7 separate regions of the Homo sapiens genome follow, and all the other regions are linked to region 3. Evidence: promoter capture Hi-C in 16 types of primary human blood cells and fetal thymus (Javierre and others, 2016). All regions are on one chromosome and are shown on one strand. Each heading gives the region's core, a stretch centred on a gene start or on the middle of the fragment in contact. The rest is flanking DNA. Distances are from core to core; before and after follow the strand shown.

The links. The method cuts DNA at HindIII sites, captures the fragments that hold promoters and counts their contacts. A CHiCAGO score of 5 or more calls a contact.
Region 1: a contact is called between a fragment that was not itself captured here and the fragment with the promoter of MATR3 in region 3, in 4 of 17 cell types (naive CD8 T cells, erythroblasts, naive CD4 T cells and 1 more). The highest score is 7.3, in naive CD8 T cells.
Region 2: the fragment with the promoter of EGR1 here is called in contact with the fragment with the promoter of MATR3 in region 3 in 5 of 17 cell types (erythroblasts, monocytes, naive CD8 T cells and 2 more); the score reaches 7.7 in erythroblasts.
Region 4: a fragment that was not itself captured here is called in contact with the fragment with the promoter of MATR3 in region 3 in 1 of 17 cell types (megakaryocytes); the score reaches 6.1 in megakaryocytes.
Region 5: a contact is called between a fragment that was not itself captured here and the fragment with the promoter of MATR3 in region 3, in 3 of 17 cell types (erythroblasts, monocytes and megakaryocytes). The highest score is 6.0, in erythroblasts.
Region 6: a fragment that was not itself captured here is called in contact with the fragment with the promoter of MATR3 in region 3 in 1 of 17 cell types (endothelial precursors); the score reaches 5.4 in endothelial precursors.
Region 7: the fragment with the promoter of KDM3B here is called in contact with the fragment with the promoter of MATR3 in region 3 in 2 of 17 cell types (fetal thymus and naive CD4 T cells); the score reaches 6.8 in fetal thymus.

Annotation. Positions count from the first base shown.
Region 1 is chr5:138,529,059-138,532,030 of GRCh38, forward strand. The region is part of intron 2 of ETF1 (eukaryotic translation termination factor 1); the gene reads right to left. Among named protein-coding and RNA genes, the nearest start is that of ETF1, 13 kb to the right of the region's middle. The HindIII fragment of the contact is 1,994 bases long and covers 586-2,579 here.
Region 2 is chr5:138,464,102-138,466,801 of GRCh38, forward strand. It overlaps EGR1 (early growth response 1), which reads left to right and starts at 1,378. Exons shown (of 2, transcript NM_001964.3): 1 at 1,378-1,967; 2 at 2,656-2,700. The coding sequence starts at 1,661. RefSeq lists silencers at 1-251, 572-971, 982-1,331, 1,422-1,631 and enhancers at 164-1,363, 436-1,276, 1,277-2,116. The HindIII fragment of the contact is 6,642 bases long and covers 1-2,700 here.
Region 3 is chr5:139,292,289-139,295,287 of GRCh38, forward strand. It overlaps MATR3 (matrin 3), which reads left to right and starts at 1,452. Exons shown (of 15, transcript NM_018834.6): 1 at 1,452-1,517. LOC124901081 (a long non-coding RNA gene) reads right to left here and starts at 1,269. Exons shown (of 4, transcript XR_007058956.1): 1 at 986-1,269. RefSeq lists enhancers at 1,524-2,227, 2,228-2,930. The HindIII fragment of the contact is 8,607 bases long and covers 1-2,999 here.
Region 4 is chr5:138,645,656-138,648,401 of GRCh38, forward strand. No RefSeq gene overlaps it. Among named protein-coding and RNA genes, the nearest start is that of HSPA9, 72 kb to the left of the region's middle. The HindIII fragment of the contact is 1,969 bases long and covers 503-2,471 here.
Region 5 is chr5:138,512,414-138,515,177 of GRCh38, forward strand. It overlaps ETF1 (eukaryotic translation termination factor 1), which reads right to left. Exons shown (of 11, transcript NM_004730.4): 5 at 1,155-1,293; 6 at 351-541. Among named protein-coding and RNA genes, the nearest start is that of ETF1, 29 kb to the right of the region's middle. The HindIII fragment of the contact is 182 bases long and covers 1,332-1,513 here.
Region 6 is chr5:138,591,537-138,594,244 of GRCh38, forward strand. No RefSeq gene overlaps it. Among named protein-coding and RNA genes, the nearest start is that of HSPA9, 17 kb to the left of the region's middle. The HindIII fragment of the contact is 2,000 bases long and covers 420-2,419 here.
Region 7 is chr5:138,351,285-138,354,232 of GRCh38, forward strand. It overlaps KDM3B (lysine demethylase 3B), which reads left to right and starts at 1,401. Exons shown (of 24, transcript NM_016604.4): 1 at 1,401-1,703. The coding sequence starts at 1,512. RefSeq lists silencers at 1,101-1,180, 1,201-1,440, 1,521-1,990 and an enhancer at 2,241-2,340. The HindIII fragment of the contact is 3,421 bases long and covers 1-2,875 here.

The sequences.
Region 1 (2,972 bases), core at 333-2,832, 760 kb before region 3:
GCAGAGGTTGCAGTGAGCCAAGATCCCGCCATTGCACTACAGCCTGGGTGACAGAGCGAGACTCCATCTCAAAAAACAAAAACAAAACCAACAAAAACCAAAACCAAACAAACAAACAAACAAAAAAAACAAGCAGATTAACGTTTTTCCAGTAAAGTTTCCAAACAAGATAAACATTCATTTACCCTCACTCCTGCAAGTCAATCAAAGTTGTTAGACCAGTTTGTGTAAACACCCAAAATAAAATTAAGGAAGCTGAATACTTCCATGTCTTTTAAAGTGAACACCCTTCAGGGGAAAATGAAAAATAAAGCTCTCACTAAGGAGATGCTGGCTACACAGGCAAACTACAACCTTCTTTAACTGTAATAGTTTTCCTTCGTTTTTCTACTATCCCTATACTCCTCTTCCGAAATCAAAGAACTAGTGAATCATGGGGTACAGCAATGTGTCACATGCAGGTTGTAAAAACTGGGCAAAACAAGAGACAACATACAGCAATGTATCCCTCAAAGCTCCCAGGGGCCTCTGCACTCAGATTCTCTTCTTGTTCTCATTGGTTTTAGGGGCACTTTGGCTTATCAAAGCTTTCATCAATGCTTCGCCCAGAGGGTTAACGTCTGAAAAATCAAACAGGTGAAAAAAAGGAATTGTAACAGAACTAAACCAAATAAATCCCAAACAAAACTCAAGTAGAAAGATAATTTTTTTAGAGATGGGGTCTTGCTCTGTCACCCAGACTGGAGTGCAGTGGCACAATCACAGCTCACTGTAACCTGGAAACTCCTGGGTTCAAGTGATCCTCCCACCCTAGCCTGGGACTACAGGTACGCACCACCACGCTCAGCTAATTTTTCTTTTTATTTTCGAGATAGGATCTCACAAGGCTGCCCAGGCTGGTCACGAACTCTTGGGCCCAAACACTCCTCCCACCTCAGACTCACTGAGCAGCTAAGGTTATAGGCGCAAGCGACCGTGCCCGCCTGACCCACAAGGATCTTAATCAATGTTCACCATCATCAACAATGCTCAAGAACACTTCAGTTTGCATACCTCCCAGCCCTGAATCCTTTTAGAGCTTTCTAAAGAAGCAAAATAAAAGAATACATGCTCAGACACAAAAGATCCCTTCTTCCTCCATCCTGACTCAATAGTTTCTGAATAGGGAGAGTGAGGGTGGTGATGATTTTGGTTGAGACAGTCTCAATTTTGAAATATGAAAGATTTTTTTTTTCTCTGAGACAGAGTCTCGCTCTGCCACCCAGGCTACAGTGCAGTGGTGTGATCTCGGCTCACTGCAGCTTCTGCCTGCTGGATTCAAGTGATTCTTCTGCCTCAGCCTCCCAAGTAGCTGGGATACAGGCGCCCACTACCACGCCCAGCTAATTGTTGTATTTTTAGTAGTGATGGGGTTTTGCCATGTTGGCCAGGCTGGTCTCGAACCCCTGATCTCAAATTATCCACCCACCTCAGTCTCCCAAAGTGTTGGGATTACAGGCTTTAGCCACCGCACCCAGCTGATTCTTTTCTTTGAGACAGAGTCTCACTCTTGTCTCCTAGGCTGGAGTGCAGTGGCGCCATCTCTGATCTTTGCAACCTCTGCCTCCCCAGTTCAAGCAATTCTCCTGCCTCAGCCTCCCAAGTAGCTAGGGTTACAGGCACGCGCCACAATGCCTGGCTATTTTTAGTAGAGGCAGGGTTTCACCATGTTGGCCAGGCTGGTCTCGAACTCCTGACCTCAAGTGATCTGTCTGCCTTGGCCTCCCAAAGAATTGGGATTACAGGTGTGAGCGACTGTGCCCGGCCTCAAATACGCAAGATTCTAATGCAGAACTAGGGTTGAGAATCACTGCATCTGGCTTGCTTTCTTCACAGGGTCATCTCTAGGTCTGCTGAAGGTAACAAGCCTCCACAACCTCACCTCCACCCAAAGAAGAAGAACCCAGAGCAGTTGCTTGCTGCATTTACCCTATGCTATGGTTTGAAGGTGTCCCCCCAAATTCATGTGTTGGAAACTTAATCCCCACTGCAATAGTATTGAAAGGTGGGGCATATGGAATGTGTTTAGGTTATGAGGGCTCTGCCCTCATGAATAGATTCATGCTGCTATTTAAAATAAGGTGCTTATAAGACCTGAGAGCTACAGTCACACGCGCACACAAAAAAGATAAAATAAGGTGCTTATAAGTAGTGGGCCATCTCTCTTTTGTTCTCTTGCCATGAGAGGAACAGTGTTCCTCCCCAACAAAGGATGCAGCGTTCAAGGTGCCATCTTAAAAGCAGAGAGCAGGCCCTTACCAGAACACCAATCTGTGGTATTCTGTTATAGCAGCACAAAAACAAAAATCAAAAAACCCCCAAAACCTAAGACAACCTAGCTATAATACAACCATAATGAATTGTGACAGCTCAGAGATACTCAACTTTACCAGCCCGAACACTCACTCCCCCTCAAGTACTCTGCCATCCAAGTCATCACTTGTAAATCACGTTAACTACTTTCAGGTTAGGACCAGGAACGTTTTAGACACTGCTTACTATACTCCCTAACCGGGATGTACAGTACATGCTCCCCAAGAAGCTTTCATCCCAGGGTTTGATGGCTGGGTTGTGCCTAGGCTATGGATGGCCAAATTTTTCACCACTTCCCTTTTCAAGCTCCCATCTGTGCCTGCCTCACAAAGCTCAATTTAAATCTCAGCCAGAGGCCAGGTGCAGTGGTTCACACCTGTAATCCCAGCACTTTGGGAGGCCAAGGTGGGCGGATCACGAGGTCAGGAGATTGAGATCACCCTGGCTAACAGGGTGAAACCCCATCTCTACTAAAAATGCAAAAAAATTAGCCGGGCGTGGTGGCGGGCGCCTATAGTCCCAGCTACCTGGGAGGCTGAGGCAGGAGAATGGTGTGAACCGGGAGGCGGAGCTTGCAGTGAGCCGAGATCGAGCCACTGCACTCCAACTTGGGCGACAGA
Region 2 (2,700 bases), core at 128-2,627, 830 kb before region 3:
GGGACTGCAGGGGGAGCCCGGGCTGCAGCGCCTGCTCAGTTCGTGCTCACTGCGTCGAAGGCTCCCCCGGCCTGGCTCCGCGCCCAGCGCCGCATCCGGGAGGAGGAGCGAGGAGGCGGCGGAAGAGCCCGCGCGGCCGGAGTCCGGGGCTGGGAGTGGAGAGGGAACCTCCAGGGGGCAGCACCGAGCCGCCAAGCCGGTCCTCTCTTCGCGCCCAGCCCGGGGTCCCCAGACAGCCCATAGGGAAGCCCCTCTTTCGGATTCCCGCAGTGTGGGCCGGCCCTCCACCTGGACTGGATAAAGGGGGGAAAGTGACCCCTCACCACAAGGACCATTATCTCCTGGTGAGAACAAGAATCAGGCCTCTCTTGGGGCAATCAGCTTCCCCACTTCGGTCCCCCAAAGGTGGGCTCTTTGCCGGCGGGGACTAGGGAACAGCCTTTCGGTTCCGGGGGAGCACAGGGGACCCCAGGCACCAGCAGCCCCATCCCACCGACAGGTGGCAGAGGCAAGGCAGCTCACTGCTATACAGTGTCCCAAGAACCAAGTGGCCGTGACTTCCTATCCTCAATTTCCCAGCGACACCCGGAAAGACACCGTGCCATAGATCGAGGCCCGGGGTCAAGGCCCCGCCTCTCCTGGGCGGCCCCTGCCCAGGCGGGCCCAGCCGCTCCTCCCCCGCACTCCCGGTTCGCTCTCACGGTCCCTGAGGTGGGCGGGCGGGCCCTGGATGACAGCGATAGAACCCCGGCCCGACTCGCCCTCGCCCCCGCTCTGGGTCTGGGCTTCCCCAGCCTAGTTCACGCCTAGGAGCCGCCTGAGCAGCCGCGCGCCCAGCGCCACACGCCACGAGCCCTCCCCGCCTGGGCGTCCCCGGATCCCGCGAGCGCTCGGGCTCCCGGCTTGGAACCAGGGAGGAGGGAGGGAGCGAGGGAGCAACCAGCTGCGACCCGGAAATGCCATATAAGGAGCAGGAAGGATCCCCCGCCGGAACAACCCTTATTTGGGCAGCACCTTATTTGGAGTGGCCCGATATGGCCCGGCCGCTTCCGGCTCTGGGAGGAGGGAAGAAGGCGGAGGGAGGGGCAACGCGGGAACTCCGGAGCTGCGCGGGTCCCGGAGGCCCCGGCGGCGGCTAGAGCTCTAGGCTTCCCCGAAGCCTGGGCGCCTGGGATGCGGGCGCGGGCGCGGGCCCTAGGGTGCAGGATGGAGGTGCCGGGCGCTGTCGGATGGGGGGCTTCACGTCACTCCGGGTCCTCCCGGCCGGTCCTGCCATATTAGGGCTTCCTGCTTCCCATATATGGCCATGTACGTCACGACGGAGGCGGACCCGTGCCGTTCCAGACCCTTCAAATAGAGGCGGATCCGGGGAGTCGCGAGAGATCCCAGCGCGCAGAACTTGGGGAGCCGCCGCCGCCATCCGCCGCCGCAGCCAGCTTCCGCCGCCGCAGGACCGGCCCCTGCCCCAGCCTCCGCAGCCGCGGCGCGTCCACGCCCGCCCGCGCCCAGGGCGAGTCGGGGTCGCCGCCTGCACGCTTCTCAGTGTTCCCCGCGCCCCGCATGTAACCCGGCCAGGCCCCCGCAACTGTGTCCCCTGCAGCTCCAGCCCCGGGCTGCACCCCCCCGCCCCGACACCAGCTCTCCAGCCTGCTCGTCCAGGATGGCCGCGGCCAAGGCCGAGATGCAGCTGATGTCCCCGCTGCAGATCTCTGACCCGTTCGGATCCTTTCCTCACTCGCCCACCATGGACAACTACCCTAAGCTGGAGGAGATGATGCTGCTGAGCAACGGGGCTCCCCAGTTCCTCGGCGCCGCCGGGGCCCCAGAGGGCAGCGGCAGCAACAGCAGCAGCAGCAGCAGCGGGGGCGGTGGAGGCGGCGGGGGCGGCAGCAACAGCAGCAGCAGCAGCAGCACCTTCAACCCTCAGGCGGACACGGGCGAGCAGCCCTACGAGCACCTGACCGCAGGTAAGCAGTGGCCTACGCCGAGGGGGAACCCTTTCGCCACCATCCTGGCGTCCTGTCCTTCACCGCAGGAGTGCTCCTGGATCTTAGAATGAGAGCCGGGTTTCCCTTTCATTCCTCGCATCCCCAGAGTCATGTGTTAGAGGGATGCCAAGGAACCCCACACAGCCCACCCCCTGCCCTCATCCCTAGCGGAGCGCAGAGGACCGAGCTTTTGTTTTGGATGGAGAGCTCTGGAGCTGCGTGGGTGGGTGGAGGGGGAGGGCTTGTTTTGATGAGCGGGGCTGCGCCCCCCACCTCCAGTAAGACTTGCCTTGCCTTGCTTGCCGCCTGTCCCCAAGGAAGGACCGTGATCCTTGGCCGTGGATGTCCCGGCAGCCCGGGTTTGGGGGCGCGCACTAGCCGCGGCCATGGGGGTGCTGGCGGGAATCCCTCGCCCGCACAGCCGCCGCTGCGGAGCGCTGCGAGCTGCAGTGGAGGGGGATTCTCCGTATTTGCGTCAGCTGTTGTTGAAATGGGCTCTGCCACTGGTGCGGGTCCAGGAACATTGCAATGTGCTGCTATCAATTATTAACTACCTCGGGAGTCAATGGTAGCCGGCCCGGTCTCTTGCCTGGCAGCTCGGGTCGTCCTCGTCCTCCAGTGATTGCTTTCCAGTAACCAGGCCTCCCGCTTCTCTCTCTCCTGCCAGAGTCTTTTCCTGACATCTCTCTGAACAACGAGAAGGTGCTGGTGG
Region 3 (2,999 bases), core at 202-2,701:
TGTGATCTACCAAATGGTATCCCACAGTAGCCGCCTCTCAAGGTTATTGTAGGGTTATGTGTAAACTGCTTATTGCATTGCCCACCTTATAGAAAGCACTCCATATTATAATCATTAACTGTGCTGGAAAATTCCCAACTCTCCAGATGCGGAGTTCTGCAAGGATGGTTGGGGAGAGAGTTGCAGCCAGATTAGGTCTCCAAACAATTTACTTAAGCCTCTGAAGGCCGGAGCTCAAATCCCTCCAACCCGGGTACCTAACCAGTACCTCAGTCCCAAGAGTGTATTGCATTCAGTCAAATTCACCAAAAGGCGGCGGTGGTCTTTAGGAAGGAAAAGGCTCGCGGTCCTCCGCCTCAACGACCCTCCTGCACAGAATTCCTGATTTTAAAAACCAGCTGGCCACTTTGGGAGGCCGAGGCGGGCGGATCACAAGGTCAGGAGATCGAGAGCATCCTGGCTAACACGGTGAAACCCCCGCCTCTATTAAAAATGCAAAAAGAAATTAGCCAGGCGTCGTGGCGGGCGCCTGTAGTCCCAGCTACTCCGGAGGCTGAGGCAGGAGAATGGCGTGAACCCGGGAGGCGGAGTTTGCAGTGAGCCGAGATCGCGCCACTGCACTCCAGCCTGGGTGACAGAGTGAGACTCCGTCTCAAAACAAAAAACAAAACAAAAAAAACAGCTGGCTGGGCGTGTAGGCTCACGCCCTTAATCCAATGCTGAGAGGCGGAGGCGGGAGCACTGCTTGAGCCAAGGAGTTCCAGACCAGCCTAGGCAAAATAACGAGACACCATCTCTACGGAAAAAATAAAAATAAAAAAGTTAGCTGGCCATGGTGGTGCGAGCCTGTAGTCCCAGCTACTGGGGAGGCTGAGGTGGGAGGATCCCTTGAGGATAGGAGTTCGAGGCTGCAATGAGCCATGATAACGCCAGCGCACTCCAACCTGAGCAACACAGTTTATTTATGATAAATAAATAAACATACCTAAATAAAAACCAGCCAAAATGGTATCGTTTTCCCTTTGTGGCCCCAATATCTGGCGCTTTCCACCATTCCTTGGCAAACAGAACAACCAGAGAGCATAAAAGTCGAGTCTAAGCCAGGGACTCTCGCGAATCCCTTCTAAGGCATACCCTATTTAAACTTTGTATTATGCTATTCAGGAGGTTGACAAACAGCCTTTTCGGGAATGGGACTCGAACTCGTAAGCCACGTCTGTTCCTCCATTTCCCGCCTCAGCTGGATGACGGAGAGGGATCTCCGGGATTAAAGAACAACGACCGCAGGCGAGTGCACGAGCGAGGTGCGCGCGCTGAGTAGGGGGAGGGGCCTGGCGCGCGCCGAACCAGATCGAGGGGGTGGGGGCGAGCTCTCTCGCGAGAGTGGGTTTGTTCTTGGGCTGCAGCCGCTGCCGCCGCTTCTCGCCAGCGCCGTTGCTGCGGGGGATTGTGGGAGTCTCCGCGTCCCGCTCGCTGGGAGAGAGGTACCTCTCCTTTTCCCTCTCCCTTTCCCTAAGGTAGGCGTGAAGCGGGTAAGAGTCGGGGTCGGGTGGCTGGGGGTTCTCCGTGTCCGCCGGGAGGGGACAACGACGGCGACAGGGGCTGCGGGGAGCCGGCGGCGCGCCTTTCTTGCTCGCTCCCGCTCTGCCTCCCTCCGCGTTGCGTATGTGAGCCGCCTGATCGGCGGCCGCCATGTTAGGAGCGCAGTGGCGGCGCAACCAGCCTTCTAGGGCGGCGGAGGTGAGCGGTCCGGGAGGGAAACACGCGGCCGGCCAAGGGCCCAGGGTGCGGCGGGAGATTTTGGGTGAAGAGGTGCGCTGACCGGCCGAGCTTCCTGCGCGTCCTGGGCTCGTTGTGGGCGGGGGCGGGACGACTAGCCCGTTACACGCGGGCCGCGGCGCTGAGGGGGAGGGAGGAGCTCGCTCGAGGCCTGAGGGACAGACTGTACACTGGGGGCTTGCCGTTTGAGGAGGATGGTTAAGATATCTAAGTCCTTGGGTAGCGCCAGTGCCAAATAACCCGTTCGCCTTTTTTTCTCTGAAAATGTTCCCCCAAAATGGAGGATTTCGCAGACTCTGAAGAGCCTGCTTGTTTGAGCAGCGTTTCTTTCTTTTCCCGGTGTCTCGGCCTTCACGCCGCTCCTTGCCCATCGCCTCAGAGCGCCCCCTAAGACTCCCGGCCCACACGCGCGCGCGCGCGCGGCGTTAGCTGGACATCAGAAACAATTCCTCCCCGCCCCCCATCGCGTAAAAATGGCCGAAAAATGAAACGTTAACGCTTGTTTTTCGTACTGCGTCGTGGAACAAGCCGCCTGCAGTACAGTGCGAGGCGGGTGATTTGCACTTGTTTAGTCAAGTCACCTCACATCCTTTTTCTCTTTATCAAAATAGTATTAGTCCAGGTTCCTCCAGAGAGGATCGTGTGGTGTGGGACCTTCCGGTTTCCAGACAAAGGGTTTTGGAGTACCGTGGTGTAGTCGCCGCATCGTTCTTTGCATTTCGAGCTCTGTGCCATGTTCTGTGTTCGGCATTTACCGTGGATGAATATCCCCTAGGTGTTTATCCTGCTCTGTGGCCCTGTTCTGTGGAATATTCCTATTGGATCAGTTACAGTTTTTTAGCCAGATATTTCTAGAACGGTTATGGTGGTTCTGAAATGGCTAGTCTTTCGGGCGCGCTGGAATAATGTGAAGAATCGTTGATTTCGTAGGTAGGGGTCACGAGATTTTGTATTGGTACTGCGTTCTGTGTTTTAAACCTTGGCTTAAGATTTCTGAATAGTCGGTAAAATACATTTTTCTCCCAGGGAAATCTAAACAGTTGACTATGCGGACAAAAATGATGTTTCAGGCTATTTTAATAAATGTTTAAAATTTCCCTTTAAAAACATTTCTTTACTAATGGCTCAGTCATCTACGCAGTCTATCGACGTTTTTCACAGTATTGTTTTAAAAATCAAGAAAGGCTTGACATTTTCGTTGCAAAAACGCTCTGGATGAT
Region 4 (2,746 bases), core at 237-2,736, 650 kb before region 3:
CTTTTTTATTTAATTTATTATTATTTTTTAAATCAGGCAGGCTCCCAAGCCAGAGTAGGCTCAGAGAGACTCCCAAACCGCTTTAAAAAAAAAAAAAAATTGACACAGTGCCAGTCTTGGTGCAAGCACATGATGTATATGGTACTATTAAATCCTAAGAATTCATCATATTATCCCGATTTTCAGCTAAAGAAACAATCTGAGCAAGAAGTGACTTCACCAAGGTCATGGAGTCTTAGAAAATGACCAAGCCAGGAGCCAAACACTCTTCTCTCCAATTCCAACCAATCAGCAGCCTGTGCTGCTGATTCCTTGGCAAGATTGCCTCCCAAGGGGACCATGGTAGAGCAAGCAGTGGTGATGGAGGAGGGTCCCGTTGGCCTTTGAAAGCAGGAGAACCCTTGCCCGTGGGCTGGGCCAGGAGCTGCAGCATCTGGCATGCTGGGAAATTGTGGAGGAGCCCTCCTTTGCCCCCACTCCATCCCCACCTGACAGGGAAGGAAGCTTTGATGCTGTTTTCTCGCCCACAGGGGACTGGGGTTTGTAAAACAAACTCACAGCCTGCAGGAAAACAGATCCTGGAACAGCCCAAACAGAAAGGCAGGGGCTGCTTGCTGTGGCCCAAAGCCCCTGCCTCCCTGCTCAGTCTCAGATGTGTGCCTCCACCTTGGCATTCTGTCTGGGCTTCCTGTCAGTCCCCGCTCTCTCTCCATCCTCACTGTGAATCTTGCAGGGCTACAGTTGCCTTGGTAACATGATGGGAAGCTCTTGAGGTTTTCTGGAACCAGAGAAGGCTGTGGAGGGAGGACTCAGGCTCTGTTGGGCTGCTTGTCACAAAGGGAAGAAACCACTCCAGTGCTCCTGCCCCTGCCAGTCCTTCCTTGGGTCTGACCTCAACCTCTTCTGTTGCATCTGCAGGAGCTTTGTTTGGGTGGCCTATAGGGCTGGGCCTGAGAGGAGGGAGCTGTCACATACTGCTCTGTCCTTGGAGTTGACTGCCACTGTCACCAGAGCTAAATTCCTACTTGCTACCATGACCTGGCCCTGTAGCCCTAATTGGTTTTATGAAGTTCAATGCCTGTTTTTTATGAGACAGATAATTATGATGCGGGGAGGTCAGGTCCTCCTCTGCTGGACCTGGCGGGGTCTCCAGAATTGCTGATTCTCCAATCGGCTCCAGGCAGACTGATGGGATCAGGGTGAGCCGAGTGCAGCCAGGCTGTGGAAGGAGAGCGAGTCTCCACTTTCCAGTCTCTGACGGGATCAGGGAGGAAAACGTGCACCGCCTGCCCCGTGAAGAAGCCCATGCCTGTGAAGTGGGCACCTGTGATGCCGTCCCTCGTGGGTATGAGGGATAACAGGCAGTGGGGTGGGAGGGGCAGCTCTCTCAGGCTAGAGGAATCCAACATGGGGCTGCCTGCGGCTCCGCGAAGAAATCCTCAATCTTTGACACTACGGGCACCCCGTGAAGATGTTTTTTTCCTCCATCTCTCCTTCTAGTCTTCTTCCTTTCCTTTCTCCCACAGTCTCAGTTCGAAATATGGCCTATTTCTTCCCTATGTCTATGTCAGTTTCCGTAACTGGTATCTCTCCCTGCCCCCCAATCCGCCCCCACCCTCCCCAGGTGAGAGTTGACTTGCTGTGCCCTGGAGGGCAGTTCTAGGAGGGTGGAGATGGAGGGGAGGGCAGGGCAAGCTGTTCTGCTGACACTGGATGGCTCCCCTCCGATCCTCCTGGTCAGGAAGACCGCGGCAGGTAGAGGCTTCCATGCTTCGCTCCAGGCTGGGAGCAGCTGTCCACAATTGTGCCTCCCAGATGGGGTGAGAGGTTGGCCCCATCCCTAGAACAGGCCACACAGCTGTGTGCCCTGTGTGTTTGACCCACTCATGGCAGACACAGAACTGCACTTTCAGACTAAGCCAGTTGTTGGGTGTGGCTGTGGGACAGGATGACCTCAGGAAGACCCTTACACATTCCACAGATTACCAAGTTCCCAGCTTCCCTTGCTTTCTGACTCAGTGGCCAATTCCTCAGGAGTTGCCTTCTCTTTAGAGTAAGGCCAATCTTGCAGGAAAGAAGGGAGGAGTGAGACTGGGGCCCAGGTAAGAAGGGCCTGGGGTCCCTGACTGCAGAGGCCAGCTCCTCTCTATCCCTCCTCCATTTAATTAGCTAATGTCTGTAAAGGGCTGGGCAATGGAAAAGCCCTATACAAATGTTGAGCACAATTTCATTTCCAAGACTAGACAAGAATATATTTGCAGACTTGAGCAAAAGGTCACTGGGCCTGCCTGGGACAGAGGGAGGACTCCCTGCAGGCCCCAGAGGGAGGATGACCCTGAAAGACTGGGGCAGGAGAAGGAGAGGCCACAGTGGGGGCCGGCATGCCTGCCTCCTTGGTCTTTAAGCTGGGTCTCTTGGTACCATGCCTGCCTTGCACTGTCCCCGTTCCTTGTGAATCCCAGGGTCCTAGAAGCTTACCCCTCTCTGCAGGGACCACCCTCAGAGACTTTCCACCAGAAGATTATGCTAATATCCACAACAGCTGATGTTTATTGAGTATTCACTGCATGCCAGGCTGTGCTAGAGGCCAGAGTGCTCCGGCTTGGGGAGACGTGGCTGCCTCTCTGCAGCAGGTGAAGGAGCTTTTCCAGTGAGGGAGCCCCTGCATGCTGCAGACTCTGCCTGAAATCTCTCCGAAACCTTTGGGAGATTGGTATCACTTATCTTCTCTGACCAATGAGAACAG
Region 5 (2,764 bases), core at 173-2,672, 780 kb before region 3:
CTGCTATGTATCTCCAAGAATAAATCAGAAAAAGAAAATAAGGAACAGGTTTTAGTTTCTTTGAAATCAAACTCCATTCTACAGCCAATTCTGACAACCCAACTAAACAAGGAACCTCCACAGGATCCATAAGAAGCCCACCTAAAAATGGTTGATTTCAGAAGAGAAGGGGTTCAGAAAAGCACAGGGGAATGTTTCCTGATAAACATCTGTAAACCTGCTGTTTAACTCAGAGGCAAGTTTTTAACCCAAGGAATTTTAAAAAGATGTGTCTGTTCCAGTGCTCACACAGAGGACTCACCTACTCCTACCTAGGGTCTTACATAATAAAGCATCTACTTCTTACTTACCTGATCAAACATATCAGATTGACTTAGTTCAGTTTTAAAGTCAGCGGATCCAGCTAAAACTAGACCAGCCACATTCACTTTGTCCCCAGAAATAAACAGCTGCACAGCAGTCTCTGCTACTTTCCGAACATAGTTATGTCGCTTTTCCATTCTTAAACGGGCAAAACGCAAGGCTGACTGACCTCCTCTACCTTTGACACAAAAGTAGCAAGAGAAAAAGGCAATTATTAAGAACTACAAGATGTCTTCAAATTAAAAATAAAATAATCATGTCATCATCTAAGAAAAGGACAAAGAAAAATCACCATTCCCTTAACTAAACGTTCAGCATAAACTGCTACTTGTTTTCAGAGAGCGACTACTAAGTCTATGTCAAGAGAGGAGCTGTAAGTACCAATGAGGCACCAGTCATTACAGGAGGCTTCTCTCCCCATCATCTGGATTCACTCCCCTCACATCATACTGTTTTCTCTCTCTCTCTTTTTTGAGACAGAGTCTCACTCTGTCGCCCAGACTGGAGTGCAGTGGCGCAATCTTGGCTCAATGCAACCTCCGTCTCCCGGGTTCAAGCAATTCTCCTGCCTCAGCCTCACAAGTAGCTGGGATTACAGGCGCCCGTCACATTTTTGTATTTTTAGTAGAGACAGGGCCGGGCTGGTCTCGAACTTCTGACTTCGTGATCCACCCGGCTCGGCCTCCCAAAGTGCTGGGATTACAGGCGTGAGCCACCGCACCCGGCCCACCATACTGTTTTCTTATTGCTAGACACAAAGTAAGTGGGTTCATGTTCTCCTCCTGTATTACCGTGTTTCTTTGGGAGATCCACAGTGAATTTGTGCAGGACTTCTCTTGTGTTTCCTTGGAGTGTGCCAAAAAGTGCACCACTACCATCTATTACAATGAATCCAAACTTGCTATCATCTGAAAGTAGTGCTGTAAGAGCCTGAAAAGCAAACACAAGTACCACACGGTGAATCCCAAAGCTTTGCTAAGGTCAAAAAAACTCTGAAAGGATATATACAAGCCCTTTCACTCCACTCACCATGCTATTAGCACTGTGGGAAAACCTTCTACGGAATAATTTATAGACTTCAGTTATAAACATGTAACTCTTATGGACAAATTTGAACCCAATAAGGAAATAACGAATGATATCTATGTGAAGCTTTTCAACACATTTGACATGGGCATGTAAATATAAAACCAGAAAGATATCTGTATGCCCATGTTTATAGCAATATTACATACAGCAGTTAATACTACTCAATCTCAAAAAGGAAGAAAATTTTGAAACACACTACAACAGGGATGAAACTTGAATACATGCTAAGTGAAATAACCCTGTCAAAAAAGGACAAATACTGTATGACTCCACTTATATGAGGTTCCTGGAGTAATCAAAATCAGAGACAAAAAGTCAAATGGTGGTTGCCAGGGGCTGGAAAAAAGGGGGAACAAGGAATTATTGCTCAATGGATACAGTTTCAGTTTTATAATATAGAGTTCTAAGCTGGGTATGATGGCTCACACATGTAATCCCAGCACTATGGGAGGCTGTGGCAGGCAGATGGCTTGAGCTCAGGAGTTTGAGACTGGCCTGGGCAACATAGCGAAACACTGTCTCTACAAAAAAATACAAAAATTAGGTGGCTGTGGTGACACGTGCCTGTAGTCCCTACCAGCTACTTGGAAAGGCTTTAGTCTGGGAGGTGTAGGTTGCAGTGAGCCAAGATTGTGCCAGTGTACTCCAGCCTGGGTGATCCAGAGACCTTGTCTCAAAAAACAAAAAAACTTTAACTTGTTCCTTTTTTTTTTTTTTTTGAGACAGGGTCTCACTTTGCTGGCCAGGCTGGAGTGCAGTAGCCATCATAGCTCACTGCAGCCTCGAAGTCTTGGACTCAAATGATCCTTCTGCCTTAGCCTCCCAAAGTGCCGGGGTTACAGGCATGAGCCAGCATGTCTTTAAAGGTATTGCAGCTAATGATTCTGAGTTTTATGAGGAAAACCTTCCTTCTATGTTAACTTTATATCCCTTTATGCCTTCCCAAAGAGAAAATATTGAAACAGTCCTGGGACATACATAGATAAGAGTTCTCACAGTGGAATCGGAATACTACACACTTAGTTGATCTCTAATTGCCAGGGGACAATCTCTTTGGAAGTAAGAAATTGTTACCCATTCCATTTTATTTTTATAAACTGATCCTCCTCTTTGGCCTCCCAAAGTGCTGGGATTACATAGGTGTGAGCCACAACACCTGGCCTTACCATTCCATTTTAAGAAAATAGCCCCTTCAATAATTGACTAGAAAGCAGATGGATCAACTAAGAATCCATCTTTAACAAACCATGCTAGATAGTTGGCATTAAGACATGAATATTGTGGCCGGGCGTGGTGGCTCATGCCTGCAATG
Region 6 (2,708 bases), core at 170-2,669, 700 kb before region 3:
GTGAAACTCTGTCTCAAAAAAAAAAAAACAAAAAAAAACCCAGAGTTGGGTGTGGTGGTGCACACCTGTAGTGCTGAGAAGAGGATCACTGGAGCCCAGGAGTTCAAGGCTGTAGTGTGCAATGATGGTGTGCCTGTGAATAGCCACCACACTCCAGCCTGGGTGACATAGTGAGATCCATTCTCTTAAAAAAGAAAAAAATCTCCCAGCTTCCTGCTGGTCCCTTCAACCTCCTTATATCGGCAACCCTTCCTTGATAGATTCACTGCAGCAACACGGGCCTTCTTTCGGGTCCTTGAAGTGTTGCTTCTGCACTTCCATAGGCCCTCACTTCTCCCTAGATCACTTTCTCCCCACCAGCCAGTTGTCTAACCCTATTTAGCCTTCAGGTCCCAACATAAATGTCACTTGTATAGGCAAGCTTCTCCAGCCCCCAGAATAGATTAGATTCCTAAGGCCTAGGCCAGTCCTGCATATTATCTTCCACAGCACTGTCTACACCTATAATACTTTTTTTTGTTTTTTGAGATGGAGTCTCACTCTGTCGCCCAGGCTGGAGTGCAGTGGTGCAATCTCGGCTCACTGCAGCCTCTGCTTTCCAGGTTCAAGTGATTCTCCTGCCTCAGTCTCCTGAGTAGCTGGGATTACAGGCACCTGCCACCATGCTCAGCTAATTTTTGTATTTTTAGTAGAGACGGGGTTTTGCCACGTTGGGCATGGTGGTCTCAAACTCCTGACCTCAGGTGATCTGCCCACCTTGGCTCCCAAAGTGTTGGGATTACAGGCGTAAGCCACTGTGCCTGGCCTATAAGCTACTTTTTAGTAAAAAATTATTTAGTATTTATCTTCTCTAGTGTTTTGATTCTTCATGTATGCAGGGACTATGTCTGTTTTGTTCAAATTTTTATTGCCAAAACCTGGCCCAACATCTGACACCTAGGAGCTGTTCAGTAAACATTCATCGATTGGCCGCCTGCTTGCCATCTCAATCATGAAGTTGCCCTGCTGTTCATTCATGTATTGGTTTAATGTTGTTTCTCTATTGTTTATATGTTTATGCTTGTCTGTTTAATGTTAACTGTCTTAAGTAGTACATTTCTAAGGGGCTAGAATCCATGTATAGAATTTTCTTTGTATGGTGTTTTGTATGTGGGTGTAAGCGTATGTATCTCATTCCCCAACTGTAGGGAAAGAATGAGGAGGTATTGAGAGGCCGAGGCAGGCAGATCACCTGAGGTCAGGAGTTCGAGACCAGCCTGGCCAACATGGTGAAACCCCGTCTCTACTAAAAATACAAAAATTAGCTGGACGCGGTGGCACGTGCCTGTAATCCCAGCCACTGGGGAGGCTGAGGCAGGGGAATCCCTTGAACCTGGGAGGCGGAGGTTGCAGTGAGCCAAGATTGTGCCACTGCACTCCGGCCTGGGCAACAGGGTGAGACTCTGGCTCAAAAAAAAAAAAAAAAAAAAGAGGTAAAATTGAGAAGATGGCAGCAAGTGTTACCATGGAGGAGACTCTGAAACTCAGTCGAGATGACTTCTGAGTCCTTATGGTATTCCTGAAGATGGGCAGGGTTGGGGGCAGGACTGAGGGAGTTTTATGATGTTGTTAAAAGTGGCTGTACTCAGAACTGTGCTATATACTGCAGAGTAACAGGAGGAGGGAAGAGAGAGTCTTCAGGAAATGAAGAAGAAAGAGGAGAAGTGGGCTGAGCTGGAAGCCTCATTTTCCACAAGGACACTGAAACATTGTTAAGCCAAGGAGAACTGTTAGCTCTGACAATAGCTCCTCTTCTTATGAGTCCTTTGGTGTTTTAATTATTTTTAAAATAAAGATTGAAGAACAACTTTTATAACTGCAACTGGAACAATGACAAGCAGTACTGATGGGGTATAATCATAACAGAAACTTTGTTTTCAGCTCCCACTGTTTCTTCTTTTCTTTTTTTTTTTTTCAAGACAGAGTCTTGCTCTGTTGCCGAGGCTGGAGTGCAGTGGTGTGATCTTGGCTCACTGCAATCTCTGCCTCCAGGGTTCAAGCAATTTTCTTGCCTCAGCCTCTTGAGTAGCTGGGATTACAGGTGCCTGCCACCATGCCCAGCTATTTTTTTTTTTTTTAGTAGAGACGGGATTTCGCTGTGTTGGCCAGGCTGGTCTCGAACTCCTAACCTCAAGCAATCTGCCCACCTCGGCCTGCCAAAGTGTTGAGATCACAGGCGTGAGCCACTGCGCCTGGCCCCACTGTTTCTTTAAACCTGCTTTGTAGTGATGGTCTTAAGTGTGCTCCTGGACAAATACTTTTCAGGATCCCTTGGAGGTGTTAGGAAGCCTTATAGCCACTGTACGCAGTACAGCATGATTTCAATTAGGCACTTAAAATGTTCAGCTTGGTATTATCAATGTTTCTGCTTGGTTTTCGAAGCTTAAGCTATTTGCTATTTGTCCTTCCTATCTGGGGCCTGCTGCAAATGAAAAGAAAGGGTGTAGTCTTTCTCTTCTGAAGTTTCTGATCCTTCTAGAATTAGAGCACAAGAAACTAAGAGGCGACAGAAAATATGGTACTTGTCTCATGTCAAAGCTGGCTTTGCACTCTCCTACCTCCCAGTGTGGCCAGTGTTTAAATCTAGCTTTCTCATAAAGCACTTTTGTGGGTTCTTCAGAGATCTGCGCACACACACACACACACACACACACACACTGCTGCTGCTG
Region 7 (2,948 bases), core at 151-2,650, 940 kb before region 3:
CCAGAAAAACATTCTGAGTCAGGCCTCAGGTTGGCTGTGGGAGATGGAAGTTAAAAAGAAGTGGAGGGAGGAATGTTTCCTTGGTGCTCCACAGGGTTGGTTCTAGAATGATTTTCCTATATGTTTTATACTTTAGTAAAAGTATAAAGTCAATAGTTGGTTACCCCTCTCCCCAAGCCTTTGTTACAAGAAAAGTAGGTCAAGGGTGTAGACAAGGTTATGGACAGGAGATAGCTGGGGTAGGCACAGAAGCCTTGGAGAAAGAACCAGCTACCACTATTTCCTGTCTGTAGGGAAAATCAAAAAGTCACTTTTAGAACAACAGTCATGGGTTATTACTATACCCTTTATCTTTTGTATCCATTTTGTGTATACTCAGTCTCTGCATCCATGAGACCATGGAATGTGCTAGTCCCTGATATTGCCAGCTTTAAATGATTGAGGCAATTTCCTGTTGCTTATTGTGGGTAACAATCTAGCCAAAAATCTCAGCATCTCACTTTCTCTGCAGGCTCCTTTTCTAATCAGGAGCTATCAGTCTCCCACACCTGTATTAAATGCATTCAGATAAGAGTTACAGAATTTTCTTTGCCCCCAGCCCCACTAATTCCATGGTAAGATGGAGTGCTACTAAGAGAACCCCTTTACTGTTGGTCTATTTCCAGTTCCCCTAAGAGTTGAATGGAGAAACACGTAGACTTAATAACATTGGCAGACTAGGAAGGGGAAGAAGTTAGGTCGGTTTTAGGAAAAACACCAAGATGTTGGGGGGCACGTTGGCCTTCAGTCAGTGGAAAGAGTGGCATTATACATCCAATGGAAGTAATACATTGGCCAATTGGAAAGGAACCTAAGAAGTGCTGGCAGTATAGAATGGGATGGTGCTGTTATGGGCCATTGAGAAGGAAGACATTGTGTCTCATGGACCAATGGGGAGAACATTTCCTACAAGACAGCAGGTAGGAGCTCATATTTTCAGGATAGGAAATCAATGGGGGTATTGGAGACACTAAATAGCTCAAAACATCCACTCTCTAGGTACCTTGCCCCTCACCCCCTTACCCCGTAAATGTCTTTGGTATCCGAGGAGAGCAAGCTAAAGCCCTCTCATATATACGACTCCCTGAAGGAAGATTGAGACCAGGGATGATGCCATGGGGAAGCTGAAGGACCCGCCCACTTCCCTACCCCGGCCGGACCTGCAATTCCCCTCCAGACCGCAGGGGGCACTGCAGGCCCCGGGGAGATTGGGGCGGAGCGCTGCGAGGGGCCAGGAGCTGTCGCCCCGCTCCAGAGCGCGGGGGGCGCTGTGCGGGGCCCAGGCTGCGGCTCCGCTCCCGGCCACGGGGGGCGCTGCGCTGCGCCGGTGGTTGGTGGTGGCTGTTGGGGGGGGTGGGGGGGAACGGCGGCCGCGGGTGGTGCGGAGGGAGGCCTTGCGGGCGGATCGGGCGCTTGGCGGCGGAGGTGGTGGGAGGCGGCGGGCGGGAGCGCGGGTCAGGCCGGCCCCGGCGATGGCGGACGCGGCGGCCTCCCCGGTGGGCAAGCGGCTGCTGCTGCTGTTCGCGGACACTGCGGCCTCAGCCTCGGCCTCGGCTCCCGCGGCGGCAGCGGCGAGCGGAGATCCGGGGCCTGCGCTGCGCACTCGAGCCTGGCGGGCCGGCACGGTGCGGGCCATGAGCGGGGCGGTGCCCCAGGACCTAGCGGTGAGTGGCGGCCGAGTCGGGCACTCGAGGCCGGGGCTGCGGGGCCTGCGGGCGGCCTCCCCGGGGGCCTTTGTGAGGGGGCGGTGGGATGGGGGTGACCCATTTCCGTGCCCCCGGGTCTCCTTAGCGCCCCCCGCCGGCACCTCCGCACCCCGAGCGCTTGCCGGCATGGCTTCCGCGTCGGGGTGTGCGCCCCGGTTTCCCCCGGGGGGCGGCCAGGGCGTCCGGAGCTGCTGCTTGCAGCCAGCAGGCCCCGCCTCCTGGGCGACCCTTTTCTCGGCGTTCCCCCCAACACGCCTTCGGAGCAGGCTCTCGAATCTTGAGCTCCCGGGAGCCTCAGAGTTCGGCCAGTGTTGCCGCTGCCCTCTCGAAGACGCGGACCTGTGGTCCCCAGCCTCTCCCAGGAGACCTGCGCCCTGTTCCTTTTCTCCCAGAGCCCCAAGTGGGGCGGGAATGTGGGCAGTTATGGGAGGCACGGAGGCTGCAGTTGGAGCTGGTCGGGGCTTTTTTATCTGGCAGTTACTTCCTCATCTGAGCTGGGCTCGGCCTGGCGGTCTCCAGAAAGGCCAGCTCTCGGCACTGTCTCGAGCTCTCCTCTCCTTTCCTTAACGCTTCTGGGTGACAGGAGCTGCAGTTGTGGCTGTTTTTGTTAAGTTTGAGATCTTTCTTAGTGGCCGAACGGGGCTGCTGGGTAGTGCTTTTTGCTCCCAGCTCAGCTACTCCCCCAACCTTGGGAGAGGTTTTGTTTTGAAACTTTGTGTTTGGGCTTGGCCCTTTTTGAATGCCTTGGTGTGTTTTGTGATTAAAGTTGTTCAGTCATACAACTTAACTAGCATTCGGGATCATGATGTGTTATTCTCGTTAATGTGGCGGTAAAATATAGTGTTTGAGTTTTGGCAAGCCACTTTATTTCCTCATTTTGATAGGGGCCCTAGCTTCTCTGGTGAGATAAGGCTATGAAAAATGGTGTGTGTGCGTGTTGGGGCAGGGGGTGGTCTTTTGGAATGTAATAGATCAGCAAGCAGAAAGTAAATTTTCTTGATGAACTTGCTTTTGCAGATATAAACGGGAACGCAGTTTGTGAGATTTGGAAGTAATGTTGTAGGCTTCCGATGTTCATTTTTCTTCCTATTGATCAACGGTGTTAGACTGTCCTTTTTCACTAATATACAAGCTTTATGGATTTTTTTTGTGGATGGCTTAGGCTTTGCTTCTGCTACTTGGGTTCATTTGCTTTGATTTTTC